Regions from separate parts of the Homo sapiens genome. Here all the other regions are linked to region 5. The links are contacts of gene promoters, found by promoter capture Hi-C in blood cells and fetal thymus (Javierre and others, 2016). All regions are on one chromosome and are shown on one strand. The core of a region is centred on a gene start or on the middle of the fragment in contact, and the rest is flanking DNA. Distances in the headings are between cores, read along the strand shown.

Region 1 (3,318 bases), core at 147-2,646, 1.0 Mb before region 5:
AGGGGGAGGGAGGAAGGAGGAAGGAGGGAGGGAGGGAAGGAGGAAGGAGGAGGAAGGAGGAAGGAGGAGGGAGGGAAGGAGGAGGAAGGAGGAAGGAGGGAGGAGGGAGGGAGGGAAGGAAGGAAAGATCGCAGAGATAAAGCCCTTGTAAAAGTGGCTGCTGCTTCCTCCTCACTCAGTCGACGTGAACTATTTTTATTAGCGAAAAACCAAGAACAACGTCTCCTCCCCACAAAACAAAAGCAAAATAAAAGCCAAAGACAGGTGTGAAGAAGATTTCTGGGAGAGCGCATTTTAAAGAAGGTGGGACTTTCTTCATCCGAGAGCCACCCAACCCAGCATCTCGGCGTGGGCCGGCCTGTACCCCTCGTCAAAGGAACAATTGGCTTGCAAACTGGGAATCTCCGTTAAAACGGACAAGACGATTTTGCTCTTTTCTTGCGGCAACGTCTGAAGATGTGCAAGAAGGGGGTCTGTTTTAGGCCAACCTCAGCCCTCTCTGCGACCCTCGAGAGCTTGTGCAAATGGCACAGCTCCTGCCTGGAGGCTGTGTGTCCTTTTGCAGCACTCTGGTGAGCCCGGGTTAAAAATCACACACCCCAAAGGGAGGCTGAGCTGAGGGCTTTCTCTGGCATTCAGCAGCGTCTCTGGCCTGGATATGCCCTGCTAGCTGGGGTATTTCTGCAGAGCAGCCTCTCCTACCCGAACACTCCCAGGTCCCCGTGACTTACAACGGTGGCTGCAGGGAGGGCAGACGTCCTGGGTGATGCTGGTCTGGTGGTGCTTGTCTGAGCAGCCGTCAAGCTAGGCAGGGGGTCCTGGGGGACCCTCCTCCTGGGCCAGAGGCGGCTGCCCTATGGGAGTGAGCTCCGCACAGGAGCAGGAGTGGAGGGCCAGCTCTCTGCTCTGCTGGGAAAAAAATCCCACTGGCTGTGCCTGCACCGCACCTTGAGACAGACACCAGCAGCCTCCGGAGACCCAGCAAGCTGCTCTTAGCTGCGATCTGTCATCTGCAGACTGAGCTTGGTGCATGGCGGTTATGAAACTGGCCAGAGCAACAATAGATGGAAAAGCTTCCTCTTTTTGGCCCTGGGCCCCAGGGAGCGAGGTCAGGTAATCCGAGGGGGATTTTATGTGTTTTTCTCCTAATGCGGTATTTTTCAATTAGGCTTTAAAAAAAAAAAATGAGTTTGGCCTCCATGTATGCGGGACCATTGCCTCAGAAGGGTTAGTTTAGGATTAGAAAATGGGTTAAACTTAAGGACAGCTTCTCTTGGATATATTGGATATTACTTTATGCTTTATGTGAAAATACTAATTTTTAAAAATATGTATGTCCATAGTCACTATTTGTTTTCTTTTGAGACTGAGTCTCGCTCTGCCTCCCAACCTGGAGTGCAATGGCACCGTCTCCGCTCACTGTCACTTCCTCCTCCCAGGTTCAAATGATTCTGCCTCAGCCTCCCAAGTAGCTGGGAAGACAGGCATACATCACCACACCTGGCTAATTTTTTTTTTTTTTTGTATTTTTTTTTTAGTAGAGACAGGGTTTCATCATGTTGGTCAGGCTGGTCTTGAACTCCTGACCTCAGGTGATCCACCCGCCTCGGCCTCCCAAAGTGCTGGGATTACGGGCATGAGCCACTGCGCCCGGCTGCGTATTCACTATTTAAAAGTAGTCAGTACTCATTGGATGATGCTAAGACAGTTTTTTATTTGGAAGCTTGAGGCTGCAGTGAGCTGAACTGCACTGTACTCACTGTTCGGAACTGAATTGAACTCACACCACTGCACTCCAGCCTGGGTGACAGAGCAGGACCCTGTCTTAAAAATTAAAGGGAGAGCCCTTTATTACAAACAGCGAGCTCAGTATATATTTTCTGAGTGTTGTGTCTGTTACAGGCTGCATTGTACCCTCCCAAATTCATACGTTAAAGTCCTAACCCCTAGGACCACACAATGTGGCTGTATTTGGAGGTTACCTCTTTAAAGAGTTAACTACAGTAAAATGAGGTCACCAGGAGTGGGCCCTGATCCAATAGGACCGGTGTCCTCATAAGAAGAGGAGATGAGGACACAGACACACACAGAGGGACGACACTGTGAGGACACAGGGAGAAGACGGCATCTCCAAGCCCAGGAGAGAGGCCTCAGGAGGAACCAGCCCTGCCCATACCTGGATCTCAGACCTCCAGCCTCCAGGACTGTGGGAGAATCAATGTTTGTTGTTTCTAAGCTGCCCAGTCTATGGTATTCTGGGATAGTCGTTCGAAATGGACAAAGACACCTCATAAGAAGAGGAGATGAGGACACAGACACATACAGAGAGATGACCCTGTGAGGACACAGGGAGAAGACGGCGTCTCCAAGCCCAGGAGAGAGGCCTCAGGAGGAACCAGCCCTGCCCATACCTGGATCTCAGACCTCCACCCTCCAGGACTGTGGGAGAATCAATGTCTGTTGTGTATAAGCCCCCCAGTCTACGGTATTCTGTGACAGCAGCCTGAGATGGACTAAGACACCTCATAAGAAGAGGAGATGAGGACACAGACACACACAGAGAGATGACCCTGTGAGGACACAGGGAGAAGTCGATGTCTCTAAGTCCACAAGAGAGGCCTCAGGAGGAACCAGCCCTGCCCACACCTGGATCTCAGACCTCCAGCCTCCAGGACTGTGGGAGAAACAATGTCTGTTGTTTACAGTCCACCCAGTTTGCAGTGTTTTATTACGGCGGCCGAGCTGACTACCCATCCACTCTGAAGCAGTTGGGAGAAGGCAGACGTCAGAGATGCTGCCGAAACCTAGGCTGAATGGAAGTGAACTTGGGATGCTGCTGAGACCTAGGCTGAATGGACGTCAACTTGGGTACCACTGGCTTCTCCCTGCTGTTGAATCCCAAAGACCATCTCGAGGCCATCTGGAGTCATGCTCCCCCGCCAGCTTCTCAGTAGAGACAGCACGTTACAGGGTGGGAAATGGTTATTCACAATTGTTCAGTGGCTGCCTGCCTTGGCGTTGGGGAGCCACATGAGAAGGCTCACAGCCACAGCCACAGCCCTCCCGGGTGCGACTCCCTGGGATCCTGCCCTCTGCCCTCTCAGAGGGTTTCTCTCTCTCTCCGCTCAGTTCACAGGAAGCAACTTGTCTGCAGTTCCCAAATCTACTTCTTGGAGCCTCTGTCCTCTACTATTTTCCTGGAGGGAACAGGCTGGGAAGGAAGGTGGTGTCCCCTTAAAACATTCAGTCAGCCGCGGCTTCAGACGGAGCAGTCATTTGTAGGTAACTAGGACTTGGGAAGATATTCAACACTGCTTC
Region 2 (3,230 bases), core at 443-2,942, 1.0 Mb before region 5:
GTCCCAGGTCACTCTCCCCAACCCCATGCCTAGGGCGTCCTGGGTTACTCTCCCCACCCCCATCCCTAGGGGGTCCTGGGTTACTCTCCCCTTCCCCATCCCTAGGTGGTCCTGGGTCACTCTCCCCTCCCCATTCCTTGGGGGTCCCGGGTCACCCTTCCCTCCCCCATCCCTAGGGGGTCCTGGGTCACTCTCCCCAACCCCATGCCTAGGGGTTCCAGGTCACTCTCCCCTCCCTCATCCTTTTGGGTCCCGGGTTACTCTCCCTACCCCCATCCCTAGGGGGATCCCGGCTTACTCTCCCCTCCCCCATCCCTAGGGGGTCCCAGGTTACTCTCCCATCCCCATTCCTAGGGGGTTCTGGGTCACTCCCTGCAACCCCATGCCTAGGGGTTTCGGGTCACTCTCCCCACCCCCATCCCTAGGGGGGTCCCGGGTCACTTGACCTCCCCATTCCTAGGGGTCCCGGGTTACTCTCCTCTCCCCCATCCCTAGGGGTCCCGGGTTACTCTCCCCACCCCCATCCCTAGGGGGGTCTCGGCTTACTCTCCCTATCCCCAACCCTGGAGGTCCCGGGTTACTCTCCCCATCCCCATGCCTGGGGGTCCCGGGTTACTCTCCCCATCCCCATCCATGGGGCTCCGGGGTCACTCTGCTGTCCCCATCCCTAGCGGTCCTGGGTCACTCCTCCCTCCCCATCCCTAGGGGGTCCCGGGTCACTCTCCCCAACCACATGCCTAGGGCGTCCTGGGTTACTCTCCCCACCCCCATCGCTAGGGGGTCCCAGGTTACAGGTTACTCTCTCCAACCCCATCCCTAAGGTGTCCCGGGTTTCTCTCCCCTCCCCCACCCCTAGGGGGGTCCCGGGTTACTCTCCCCTCCCCCATCCCTAGGGGGTCCTGGGTCACTCTCCCCAACCCCATCCCTAGGGGTCCCGGGTTATTCTCCCCAACCCCATTCCTGGGGGTCTCGGCTTACTCTCCCCATCCCCATGCCTGGGGGTCCCGGGTTACTCTCCTCTCCCCCATCCCTAGGGGTCCCGGGTTACTCCCCCACCCCCATCCCTAGGGGGGGTCTCGGCTTACTCTCCCCATCCCCAACCCTGGAGGTCCCGGGTTACTCTCCCCATCCCCATGCCTGGGGGTCCCGGGTTACTCTCCTCATCCCCATCCATGGGGCTCCGGGGTCACTCTGCTGTCCCCATCCCTAGCGGTCCTGGGTCACTCTACCCTCCCCATTCCTAGGGGTCCCGGGTTACGATCCCCTCCCCCATCCCTATGGGGACCCAGGTCACTCCCCACCCCCATGCCTAGGGGGTTCCGGGTTACTCTCCCCTCCCCCATCCCTAGAGGTTCCGGGTCACTCTCCCCAACCCTATCCCTGGAGGTCCCGGGACACTCTCCCCTCCCCCATCCCTAAGGGTCTCGGGTCACTCTCCCATCCCTATCCCTAGAGTTCCTGAGTCGCTGGGCCCTCCGGGGTTCAGCCCCTCCGTCCCCGGTCCCCTGCCCCGCCCAGGCCCAGGCCGTACCGCGTTGCTGAGGATCTCCTGACGGCGTGGGGAGGCGCTGGCCAGCACCACGCGCTTGTGCAGCAGCTTCCCAATCACCGGGCACAGCACCATGGCGTCCACGCCGGGAGCCGGGCGTCCGCACTTCTGAGCCCGGAGCCCGCGGTGCGCGCAGCGCGGCTGCAAAAAAAACAGGCGGCCAGAGTCCCGCCTCCGCGAGGCCACGCCCCCGCCCGCCTCCGCGAGGCCACGCCCAGTCCGCGCCTTCAGTGGCCTCCCCGCGAGACCGCGCCCAGGCCACGCCTCCATTGAACACTCCGTCAGGCCTCGCCCAGGCCACACCTCCATTGCCCTCTCCACCAGGCCACGCCCATGTCACGCCCCATTGATCTCCCCTGAGACCACGCCCAGACCACGCCTCCATTGCCCTCTCCGTCAGGCCACGCCCAGGCCACACCTCCATTGCCCTCTCCGCCAGGCCACGCCCATGTCACGCCGCCATTGACCGCTCCGCCAGGCCACGCCCAGGCCACACCTCCTTGCCCTCTCCGCCAGGCCACGCCCATGCCACGCCGCCATTGAGCTCCCCGTGAGGCCACGCCCAGGCCACACCCCCGCCCGCCTCCCCCCCGGGCACCGCCCCGGCCGCTTGGTGAAGCACCGCCCCCAGCTCCGCCTCCCGGGCCCCGTCCCCGCCCCCGGCGCTCGCCCCGCCCCTCCCCACCCCGCCTGCGGCGCCAAGACCTGCAATGGCGCAGGCAGCTGCGGGGTCCCGGGGAGGAAAGGCTGGCGTGGATACTTGGGGTTCCTTGCAGGCGCGGCGTGGGGAGTGGAAATGCTGGGTTTCCGCAGCTGCGGTTGTGGGCAGTTGTGGGGGTGGGGGGTTCTTACCCGCACGTGGAGGGGCCCGGCGCAGAGATGGGGGTCTTGTGGGAGCCGCGTCGGGGAAGGTAGAGATAGGGGGTTCCCCGCGGACCCGGTGCGAGTGGCGTGGGGATGGGGATGTCCTCGTGCCTGGTGGGAGGGGAGTGGAGATGGGGGTGTCCACGGGCCTGGTGGGAGGGGCGTGGAGATGGGGGTGTCCACGGGCCTGGTGGGAGGGGCGTGGAGATGGGGGTGTCCACGGGCCTGGTGGGAGGGGCGTGGAGATGGGGGTGTCCACGGGCCTGGTGGGAGGGGCGTGGAGATGGGGGTGTCCACGGGCCTGGTGGGAGGGGCGTGGAGATGGGGGTGTCCACGGGCCTGGTGGGAGGGGCGTGGAGATGGGGATCCCCGCGGGGATGGTGGGAGGGGTTTGGAGATGAGGGTCCCCGCGAGAATGCTCGGAGGGGTATGGATATGGGGGTCCCCGCGGGCCGGGTGGGAAGGGCGGGGAGATGGGTGGGGGGGGGGTCCCCGCGTGCCTGGTGGGAGGGGCGTGGAGAAGGTGGGGGTCCTTGTGGGAGGGGCGTGGACACTGGGGATCCGCGCGGGCGTGGTGATGGGCGCGGCGTGGGGACCCCCTGGGGGCGCGGTGCTGGGGGCGCAGGGATGGGACCAGGGCGGGCGCTGTGAGGTGGGGGACGCCCGGCTGTGCCTTCCCTCCCTAAACGGAGCCCACCTCCAGGGCAGCGGGTCCCTTGCGCGCCGCAGGCTGCAGGGGGCGCGCGTGAGCTGTGCGAGGATTTTTCTTAAACCCCAGAGCCCAGCCGCACCTGCTCCACATAAACCCAGCGTGGCG
Region 3 (3,315 bases), core at 333-2,832, 1.2 Mb before region 5:
ATAATAAGTAATCATTATAGATATGATAGATGGTAGGTGATAGGTAGACAGATGATAGATAATTGATAGATGATAGGGTAGATAATTGATAGGATAGATAAGTGATAGATGATAGATAGATAGATAGATAGATAGATAGATAGATAGATAGACAGACACATAGATAGATGCCGGGTGTGGTGGATCACGCCTGTAGTCCCAGCATTTTGGGAGGCCGAGGCGGGTGGATCACGAGGTCAGGAGTTCGAGACCATCCTGGCCAACATGGTGAAACCCCGTCTCTACTAAAAATACAAAAATTGGCCAGGCATGGTGATGCACGCCAGTAATCCCAGCTACTCAGGAGGCTGAGGCAAGAGAATGGCGTGAACCCGGGAGGCAGAGATTGCAGTGAGCAGAGGTCGCGCCACCTGCACTCAGGCCTGGTGACAGAGGAAGACTCCCTCTCAAAATAATAATGATAAACAAAGTGCTGGGATTACAGGCTTGAGCCACCACTCCCGGCCTGGGGCTGTAGTTTTCCATTTCTTTGTTCCAAAGGCCGGAGTCACCAGCTTATCTTAATTTGCCTTGTGGTCTACCTGCCAACCTTCCCACCACCCCACACAGGAAAACTCATTGAGTCTGCTTCAGCAGACAACACCCTGAGACTTTTCCCACTGGTGCCTTTACTTATTACAACGCCGAGCTGCTTCAGAGGCAGAACAGGCTTATCTGAGTCCTCAGACTTCTCTCCTTCCCAACAGCATCAACATTTTCCAGGAAAATCACGACTTGTGAATTTATTATTTTTATTTTATTTTATTTATTTTTTGAGATAGAATTTCACTCTTGTTGCCCAGGCTGGAGTGCAATGGCATGATCTCAGCTCACTGCAACGGCCACCTCCCAGGTTCAATCGATTCTCCTGCCTCAGCCTCCCGAGTAGCTGGGATTACAGCCAACTGCCACCACACCCAGCTATTTTTTTTGTATTTTTGTTAGAGATGGGGTTTCACCATGATGACCAGGCTGCTCTCGAACTCCTGACCTCAAGTGATCTGCCTGCCTCGGCCTCCCAGACTGCTGGGATTACAGGTGTGAGCCACTGCGCACGGCCCATGTGTAGATTTATTAAATGCCCCTGTTCGGCCTCCCAAAGTGCTGGGATTATAGGTGTGAGCCACCTCGCCCAACCCACCATCTAAAGTCTGTCTCTGAGCTTTACCTCATACCACCCCCCCTCCTGGTACCCATCCCTGCCCCTGAGAAAAGGGAGGTGAAGGAGACCAGGAACCACAGTTTTCAGCTAAGAGGAAACTCAGGTCAGAAAGTCCCTGCCTGGCCCACATCCCTCATTCTAAAGAGAGAACTGGGGCTTCCCAGCAAGGAACAAGGAGATGGCACAGACAAGGCTATGTCTGTTCAAACAGTGACATTCTCTGGGCCATGTGTCCATCAAGCAAAAGATATCACCATCCCCAGGTTCACAGACCAGGACAGGCACCTACAGGAAGCCGCTTACAGGTGCTGGGATGTATCTCAGAGCTCGGTCCTTTGAACACATCCCTCCGGGCCACGTTCTGGCGTTAGTACTGGAGGTTAAAGATTCACGGGACCATTGTTTCTGGAAAGGCAGGGAAGTATAAATAAACAAATGCTCAATGTCATCTGAAGGTGACGTACGAGGGAAGCGGAGAACTGAGAACTGGAGGCGGAGGGTTTCCAGTCATGGCAGAAGGCAAAGAACTGGGGCTTCCCAGCAAGGAACAAGCAGATGGCACAGACAAGGCCATGTCTGTAAAAGCAGTGACATTCTCTGGGCCATGTGTCCATCAAGCAAAAGATATCACCATCCCCATGTTCACAGACCAGGACAGGCACCTACAGGAAGCCGCTTACAGGTGCTGGGATGAATCTCAGAGCTCGGTCCTTTGAACACATCCCTCCAGGCCACGTTCTGGCCTTAGTACTGGAGGTTAAAGATTCACGGGACCATTGTTTCTGGAAAGGCAGGGAAGTATAAATAAACAAATGCTCAATATCATCTGAAGGTGACGTATGAGGGAAGCAGAGAACGGAGAACTGGAGGCGGAGGGTTTCCAGTCATGGCAGAAGGCAAAGAACTGGGGCTTCCCAGCAAGGAACAAGCAGATGGCACAGACAAGGCTATGTCTGTAAAAGCAGTGACATTCTCTGGGCCATGTGTCCATCAAGCAAAAGATATCACCATCCCCAGGTTCACAGACCAGGACAGGCACCTACAGGAAGCCGCTTACAGGTGCTGGGATGAATCTCAGAGCTCAGTCCTTTGAACACATTCCTCAGGGCCACGTTCTGGCCTTAGTACTGGAGGTTAAAGATTCACAGGACCATTGTTTCTGGAAAGGCAGGGAAGTATAAATAAACAAATGCTCAATGTCATCTGAAGGTGACATACGAGGAAAGTGGAGAACTGAGAACTGGAGGCGGAGGGTTTCCAGTCATGGTGCAAGGCAAAGGGGTAGAAGGAATTACATGGTGAGAAAGGAAGCGAGAGAGAAGCCAGGGTCTTTTTTATTTTTTTGAGACGGAGTCTCACTCTGTTGCCCAGGCTGGAGTGCAGTGGCGCGATCTTGGCTCACTGCAACCTCCGCCTCCCAGGTTCAAGCGATTCTCCTGCCTCAGCCTACTGAGTAGCTGGGACTACAGGCGCCTGCCACAGCGTCTGGCTAATTTTTTTTTTGTATTTTTGGTACAGACGGGGTTTCACCATGTTAGCCAGGATGGTCTCAATCTCCTGACCTCGTGATCCGCCCACCTCGGCCTCCCAAAGTGCTGGGATTACAGGCGTGAGCCACTGCGCCTGGCTTTTTTCTTTTTTTGAGACAGTCTCACTCTGTCACCAGGCTGCAGTGCAGTGGCGCAATCTCGGCTCACTGCAACCTCCACCTCCCGGGTTCATGCCATTTTCCTGCCTCAGCCTCCCAAGTAGCTGGGACTACAGGTGCCCACCACCACGCCCGGCTAATTTTGTGTATTTTTAGTAGAGATGGGGTTTCACCATGTTAGCCAGGATGGTAAAAGAACAAACTCTCACACGAATTCACAGAGGAGAGCTCATTTACTGTCTCATTACCTTGGGGACTGCACCAAGCTATTTACTAGGGATTCACCCCATGATCCAAACACCTACCACCAGACCCCACCCCCCAACATTGGGGATCCCATTTCAACATGATATTTGGAGGGTACAAACATACAAACTCTATCACCATCTCAATTTTTTTTTTTTAAAGAGGGAATCTTGCTCTGTTGCCGGGTTGGAGTGCAGTGGCAAGATCTCGGCTGATCGCA
Region 4 (3,422 bases), core at 99-2,598, 1.0 Mb before region 5:
TCTCAGGGTCACTGTTAGTGCACCCAGACCTGTTTGAGCAAGAGTCCTTGATATCGATTTAGAAATATAATGGGTCGGCTGGGCACGGTGGCTCATGTCTGTAATCCCAGCACTTTGGGAGGCTGAGGTGGGCAGATCATGAGGTCAGGAGATGGAGACCATCCTGGCTAACACGGTGAAACCCCTTCTCTACTAAAAATACAAAAAAGAAAAAAAAAATTAGCCGGGCGTGGTGGCGGGTGCCTGTAGTCCCAGCTACTCGGGAGGCTGAGGCAGGAGAATGGCATGAACCCCGGAGGCAGAGCTTGCAGTAAGCCTAGATGGCACCACTGCACTCCAGCCTGGGTGACAAAGTGAGACTCTGCCTCAAAAAGAAAAAAAAAAAAGAAATATAATGGGTCATATAGATGTTTGAGAGGTAGCCAAGGGTGGCTGATGCCAGGTCTAGAAGAACAAGGGTCACCTAGAAGGCTTCCCCTACCCTCAAGAATAGTTGGAAATGTAGGAAACATCCCTGGTTGCCACAACTTAAGGAAGGATGCTACTGGGATCTGGTGGGTGGAGCCCAGGGATGGTGCTCAACACCCTACCATGCACAGGAGGGTCCCCACCACAGAGAAGCATCCAGCCTCAAATATCTACAGTGCTGAGGTTGACAACCTGGCATGAGCATAAGAACTTCACCGTCAGCCTGGAGCAGTGGCTCACACCTGTAATCTCAGCACTTTGGGAGGCCGAGGTGGGTGGATCACCTGAGGTCAGGAGTTTGAGACCAGCTTGGCCAACACGGTGAAGCCCCGTCTCTACTCAAAATACAAAAACTAGCCAGGTGTGGTGGCGGGTGCCTCTAATCCCAGCTACTTGGGAGGCTGAGGCAGGAGAAGCACTTGGACCTGGGAGGCGGAGGTTGCAGTGAGCTGAGATTGTGCCATTGCACCCCAGCCTGGGCGACAGAGCAAGACTGCATCTCAAAAAAAAAAAAAGAAGAAGAAGAAGAAGAAATTCACCATCTGTCTATCCATGAATCCATTTGTTGATCTAACCCCTGTCATCCATCTATCATCTATCATCTATCTATATCAATCGTCTTGCAACCCTTGATCTATCATCTATCTATATCAATTATCTATCAATCGATCATCTATCTACCTATCAATTTTCTCTCTATCAATTACTTATCTATCTAGCAATCATATCTATCAATTATGAATCAATCATCTTTCTATGGATCTTTCATCTATTCATATCAATTACCTACCAATCAGTTATCTATTAATTACATCTATCATCTGTGAATCAGTTATCTAACAATCACATATACGTGTTCATCAATCTATCAATTATTTATCTATGCATCAATTATTTATCCATTCAATAGTTTGCAAATGTGAATGATTCAGGTATCATAATTGGGAAGATGCGTCTGGCATCTGGTGGGTAGATCCCAGGGACACTGCTCAACACCCTACAGTACACAGGATGGCCCCACCACAGAGGATCATCTGGGCTGAAATGTCAGCAGTGCTAAGGCTGAGAAACCTGCCCTCAAGCAACTGTGTGACAAGAGCAGCCTTCAACAAACACACAGAGCTCAGGAGTACTTTCCAAAGAATGTCTGCAAGAGGCTTTCGGGGAGAGAAAAGACCCCAGGCAGATGTTCCTAGCAAGAAGCTGGTGTCGTGGAAAGGGACAGTGGTCTCATCATGGTTAGTGACCAGCTGTGGATGAAGAGCGATTCCTTAAAATGCCTGCACGTGCCCCTCATTGCCTTGCCGTCACGGACCTCCCACCCCATCACAGAGGAGGAGACCTGGTCTTCAGGAAGACAGATGGAACATGAGCTAAAGCATCTCTTGGGCCCCTGAGCTGGGGTGGGGTCAGACGTCAGAGCTGTGGCCAGAAGCAATAACAAAGAGAAGTTCTTGACTCATGTGGAACCTTCCATTGGTATCTCCTGTTTCCAATCCTAAGCATTTCTCTGTATGATGGACACCAATGCTTTTAAAATGAAAAATGGTGCTGGCAGGCGTATGTGTGTGTGTGTGTGTGTGTGTGCCCAGCAGGGAAGCAGAAATTATTACCAACATATCTTTTGCAAACAGGGATCATATAAACTAGAGAGATTGCAGAAGGCAGACTGTAGATAAGAGATTGCAGAGAGGTTGTAGGGTGACAGACAGGTCCTTTTGGGAGGGAGGAAGTAGGAAGAGAGTTGGTGGTTTTCAATATGGGAAGCTGAAGTGGCACAGGTATCTTTTATTTATTTATTTATTTTTTTGAGACAGAGTCTCGCTCTGTTGTCCAGGCTGGAGTGAAGTGGCACGATCTCGGCTCACTGCAACCTCCGCCTCCCGGGTTCAAGCGATTCTCTTGCCTCAGCCTCCTGAATATCTGGGACTACAGGCGCCTGCCACCATGCTTGGCTAATTTTTGTATTTTTAGTAGAGATGGGGGTTCCAGCATGTTGGCCAGGCTGGTCTCGAACTCCTGACCTTATGATCCACCCACCTCGGCCTCCCAAAGTGCTGGGATTGCAGGTGTGAGCCACTGCTCCCGGTACAGGTATCTTTTTATGTGAACATAGATAGCAGGGGCTGGGAAAACAGAGAAGCTAGGTGGTGGGCTCATGGTGCAAAGACTATCATGGAATATACCAGAAGCCTCCTGCCCCCTGCTGTCTGCCTTTCTGGTGGTCCCTCCCCACTGAACTGCAACTTATCCTAATAAAACCGGGGTTGATACCACCACTTCCAGGTTCCCACATTCCAAGTCCCCTCAGCCACAGAAGCAGATGCAACCTCTTCTGAACTTCCAGACACCATTGAGTTTTCAACTTTGGTTTAATTTTTAGATCTTCCAATTACAGAACACACACACACACTTGTTATGAGTAAAAGAATAAAGAGAAATAGAGAGCTCTGTATTCGTGTTTGTCTTTGGATCTTTCCCCTCCAGGTCCCACTTCCCTTCAGAAGTAACCTCTGGGAGTTCGTTTGCTCTGGAGCCTCCTTTCATACACAGGTAAGTTTTATTTTGCATAGTAGGACATACACCCGTCACCACTTTTGTGAATGTCTTGTGGTGTCTCTAACCATATGCCCCACAGTGAGGGGATTTGGATGGATCAACTCTGCTTCAGCCTGTGTGCTTACACACACTCCTCTGTAAGTATTTTTATGCATACCTGTGAGAACATTTTCTAGGATCGATTTCTAGGAGAAGATCTGCTGATTTGAAGGGTTTGCATATTTTAAATGGAATGCATGTATTAGAAAGGAAGTAAGATCTAAAATCAATAATTTAAGTTTCCACCTCGAGAAACTAGAAAAAGAAGAGCAAATTAAATCTAATGGAAGAAGAAAGAAATAAATCATAAATATTAGATTAGAGGAGAAATCAGTGGATTTGAAAATAGGAAATCC
Region 5 (3,261 bases), core at 470-2,969:
GAAACTGTCTACAGAGGCAGAAATAACAGCTCTCTTCTTAGGCTGGACATTTAAGACATTCAGGGCAACGTACACCCCCACCCCCACCACACTGACCCTCTGAACGCTCTGTTTTGGAAAACTGTTATTTTTGAAACAAAGTATCATTTAACCTAACATGGAATTAACATTCCCTTTATTCCAGTTCACAAATAATTGTTTACAGGTTTCTAGGTTTAAATTGAGAATATGGGCTGGGCACAGTGGCGCTCTGTCTGTAATCCCAGCAGTTTGGGAGGCCCAGACTGGAGGATTGCTGCAGGCCAGGGGTTCAAGACCAGCCTGGGCAACATGGTGAGATGCCATCTCTACAAAAAATTTAAAACATTAGCCAGGCGTGGTGGCTCACGCCTGTAAACCCAGCACTTTGGGGGACCCAGGTAGGAGGATTGCTTCGGCCCATGAGTTTCAGACCAGCCTGGGCAACGTAGCAAGACCCTATTGCTACACAAAAAAATTAAAACATTAGACAGGTGTGGTGGCTCACACCTGTAATCCCAACAGTTTGGGAGGCAAAGGAAGGAAGATCGCTTGAGCCCAGGAGTTCGAGACCAGCCTGAGCAACATAGCAAGACCCCGTCTACAAAACTTTAAAACATTAGTCGGATGCAGTAGCTGGTGCCTGTAATGCCAGCACTTTGGGAGGCTGAGGCAGGAGGACTGCTTGAGCCCAGGAGTTCGAGAGTAGCCTCGGCAACAGAGCAAGACTTCATCTCTACTTCCTATTACAAAAAATAATAATAATAATAAATTCTGAACCTGCAAATCTAGGAACAGAAGTTATCTGCATACACAAAACACAGTGGCGGTCATCACTGATGAGTTCAGACAGTGAACGAGTCCTGCAAAGTTGGAGATCTGTGACTCAGAGATGTTTACAAAGGCCAAGGAAACAAAGTTGCCACTTAACGGGCCTGCCCTCCCCACCAGACCTCCGTGGCTCCCCAGTGCCCGAGAAGCCGCCTCTGGGCCCCCTCTGGAGACGTCCTCCGGAGAAGGGCCCATCCTCACTTACCCTGGGGTGGGTAGGGGTCGAGGTCCCTGGGACGCCCGCTCCTCCCCTCCGGGGCCTGGCGGGGGCGCGCGGTCACTGGCCGACCGCAGGCGGCAGGCAGAGCCGCCTGATGTCTTGGGCGCGGGGCGTGCGAGCCCCCGGGTCCCCGGCCATGGCCCGGAGGTGTCAGGGTGCGCGGGGGGGCGGCTGCACGGGGGCTGCTTGGTTGGAGCCCGACCCGGGACAGGCGGGGAGGCCACACGCGCGGGGAGGGAAGGGTCGGGCCGGGTCGGGCCGGGCCAGGCGCGCAGAAGAGCCGGCGGGGACGGAAAGCGCGGGGCGGGGAGGTCCCAGCGCGCACGCCGCCCCCCCCCCACCCCCGGCCACACCTCGACCCCCGCCCAGCCCCACTTCCGGGAGCGCCACCGCCTCGCCAAGGTCACGCGGAGCCCCCGCGCCCCCGCCCCCGAGCCAGCCCGCGCCCACCCGGGTCCCCGGAGCCCTGACCCCTGCCCCGCCCCGCTGACCTGGCTCCAGGAAGCCCCCGCGGCAGCGCCGCAGCAGCTGCGCCAGGATCACCGCGGCGCCTACCGCGTAGACCCGCAGGGCCGCCCGCGCCGCAGACAATGGCGACATGGCTGCCCCGGCCGCGCCGCCGCCGCTTCCGCGCCGCCCGCGGGACTCTGCGCCCGCCCGCCCGGACGGACGGCGGAAACGCGCGCGCCCCGGACCGCCCCCTGCCCGCCCCGAACCGCCCCGGCCTGCGGGGAACCCCCAACCCCAGACCCCGCCCGGGCCCTCTGGGATCCCGCACCGCCTGCAGGACTGGGGACCCCGAGCGGACAACCGACCCCAGCCAGGACACCCCCCCCAGGACCACAGACTCCAGCCAGGAACCCCCCCCTGCAAGGACCATAGACTTCAGCCAGGACCCCCCCCCCCAGGACCACAGACCCCAGCCAGGACGCCCCCAGGACCACTGACCCCAGTCAGGACCCCCCCTTCAGGACCACAGACCCCAGCAGGGACCCCCCACACACACCCCCAGCCAGGACCACAGACCCCAGCCAGGAATCCCCCCCAGGACCACAGACCCCAGCAGGGACCCTCCACACCTCCTCCAGGACCACAGACCCCAGCAGGGACCCTTCCCCCTCCCGGCAGGACTGCAGACCCCAGCAGGGATCCCCACCACCACAAGACCAACAGCCCCAGCCAGGACGCCCCCAGGACTACAGACCCCAGCCAGCACCCAAGTCAGATCCATAGACTCCTCCCAAGAACACCCCCCAGGACCCCAGACCCCTGCTGGGACCCCCAAGACCACAGGCCCCCCCACTGGGGCACGCCCAGACACCCCACCAAGAACCCCACCAGGACTACAGACCTCCACCAGGACTCCCCAGTACCACAGATCCTCCCAGGGCCCCCCAGGACCACAGACCTCCACTGGGACCCCCACCACCAGGACCCCTCTCCAGGATCACAGACCCCTACTGGGGCCCCCTTCTAGGACCTCCACCTCCATCACAACCACCCCCCGGACCACAGGCCCCAGCCAGCACCCCACAAGACCACAGACCCCTGCCAGGACGCCCCCCAGGACTACAGACCCCAGCTGGACTGCCTCTCCAAGACCCCACACTCCAGCCAAGACCATGGAACCCCATTCAAGCCCCAGCCAGGACCCCCACCATGGGATCACAGATCCCCTACCCAGACCCTGCAGGGGACCAGGACCACCACGGGAACCACCCTCCCCATCTTAGCCAGAATCATGTAACCCCACGCAGACCTCAGCAGGGACCACAAGGACTTGGACCCCATAGGGAACCCCAGACAACCACCCAGAGCCATGCCAGGATTATGGACCAGGACTCCCACAGAGGACTCTGAACAGCTGTAAGGACCATGGACCCCACACCCTAATTCGTACTGACACCACAGAACCTGCCCCAAGCACGGACCCCACACCCCAGTTCCTGCTGACACCACAGAACCTGCCCCAAGCACGGACCCCACACCCCAGTTCCTACTGAGACCACAGACCCCACCCCAATTCCTGCCAGGCCACAGACACCACCCACCAAACCTACCCCTCCACTTCCCTGCCCCCAACAACCCTGCAGGGATCACAGACCCCCTTCCCGGCCCCTGCAGAGAACTCCAGACTACTTCAGGGACCACGAGCCCCCTCCCCACCCTGATCCCTACTGGGACAGCAGACC

What was found. The method cuts DNA at HindIII sites, captures the fragments that hold promoters and counts their contacts. A CHiCAGO score of 5 or more calls a contact.
Region 1: a fragment that was not itself captured here is called in contact with the fragment with the promoter of DHRSX in region 5 in 3 of 17 cell types (total B cells, fetal thymus and naive B cells); the score reaches 8.0 in total B cells.
Region 2: a contact is called between the fragment with the promoter of ASMTL here and the fragment with the promoter of DHRSX in region 5, in 7 of 17 cell types (total CD8 T cells, naive CD8 T cells, total B cells and 4 more). The highest score is 8.0, in total CD8 T cells.
Region 3: a fragment that was not itself captured here is called in contact with the fragment with the promoter of DHRSX in region 5 in 8 of 17 cell types (naive CD8 T cells, non-activated CD4 T cells, activated CD4 T cells and 5 more); the score reaches 10.7 in naive CD8 T cells.
Region 4: a contact is called between a fragment that was not itself captured here and the fragment with the promoter of DHRSX in region 5, in 5 of 17 cell types (naive B cells, total B cells, erythroblasts and 2 more). The highest score is 8.7, in naive B cells.

The regions. Positions count from the first base shown.
Region 1 is chrX:1,493,362-1,496,679 of GRCh38, forward strand. The region is part of intron 1 of P2RY8 (P2Y receptor family member 8); the gene reads right to left. Among named protein-coding and RNA genes, the nearest start is that of ASMTL, 42 kb to the left of the region's middle. The HindIII fragment of the contact is 650 bases long and covers 1,072-1,721 here.
Region 2 is chrX:1,451,217-1,454,446 of GRCh38, forward strand. It overlaps ASMTL (acetylserotonin O-methyltransferase like), which reads right to left and starts at 1,693. Exons shown (of 13, transcript NM_004192.4): 1 at 1,532-1,693. The coding sequence starts at 1,624. The HindIII fragment of the contact is 27,509 bases long and covers 1-3,230 here.
Region 3 is chrX:1,251,730-1,255,044 of GRCh38, forward strand. No RefSeq gene overlaps it. Among named protein-coding and RNA genes, the nearest start is that of CSF2RA, 15 kb to the right of the region's middle. The HindIII fragment of the contact is 8,598 bases long and covers 1-3,315 here.
Region 4 is chrX:1,476,219-1,479,640 of GRCh38, forward strand. All of the region lies in intron 1 of P2RY8 (P2Y receptor family member 8), which reads right to left. Among named protein-coding and RNA genes, the nearest start is that of ASMTL, 25 kb to the left of the region's middle. The HindIII fragment of the contact is 4,346 bases long and covers 1-3,422 here.
Region 5 is chrX:2,499,257-2,502,517 of GRCh38, forward strand. It overlaps DHRSX (dehydrogenase/reductase X-linked), which reads right to left and starts at 1,720. Exons shown (of 7, transcript NM_145177.3): 1 at 1,561-1,720. The coding sequence starts at 1,669. ZBED1 (zinc finger BED-type containing 1) reads right to left here and starts at 1,720. Exons shown (of 2, transcript NM_001171136.2): 1 at 1,561-1,720. The HindIII fragment of the contact is 4,150 bases long and covers 1-3,261 here.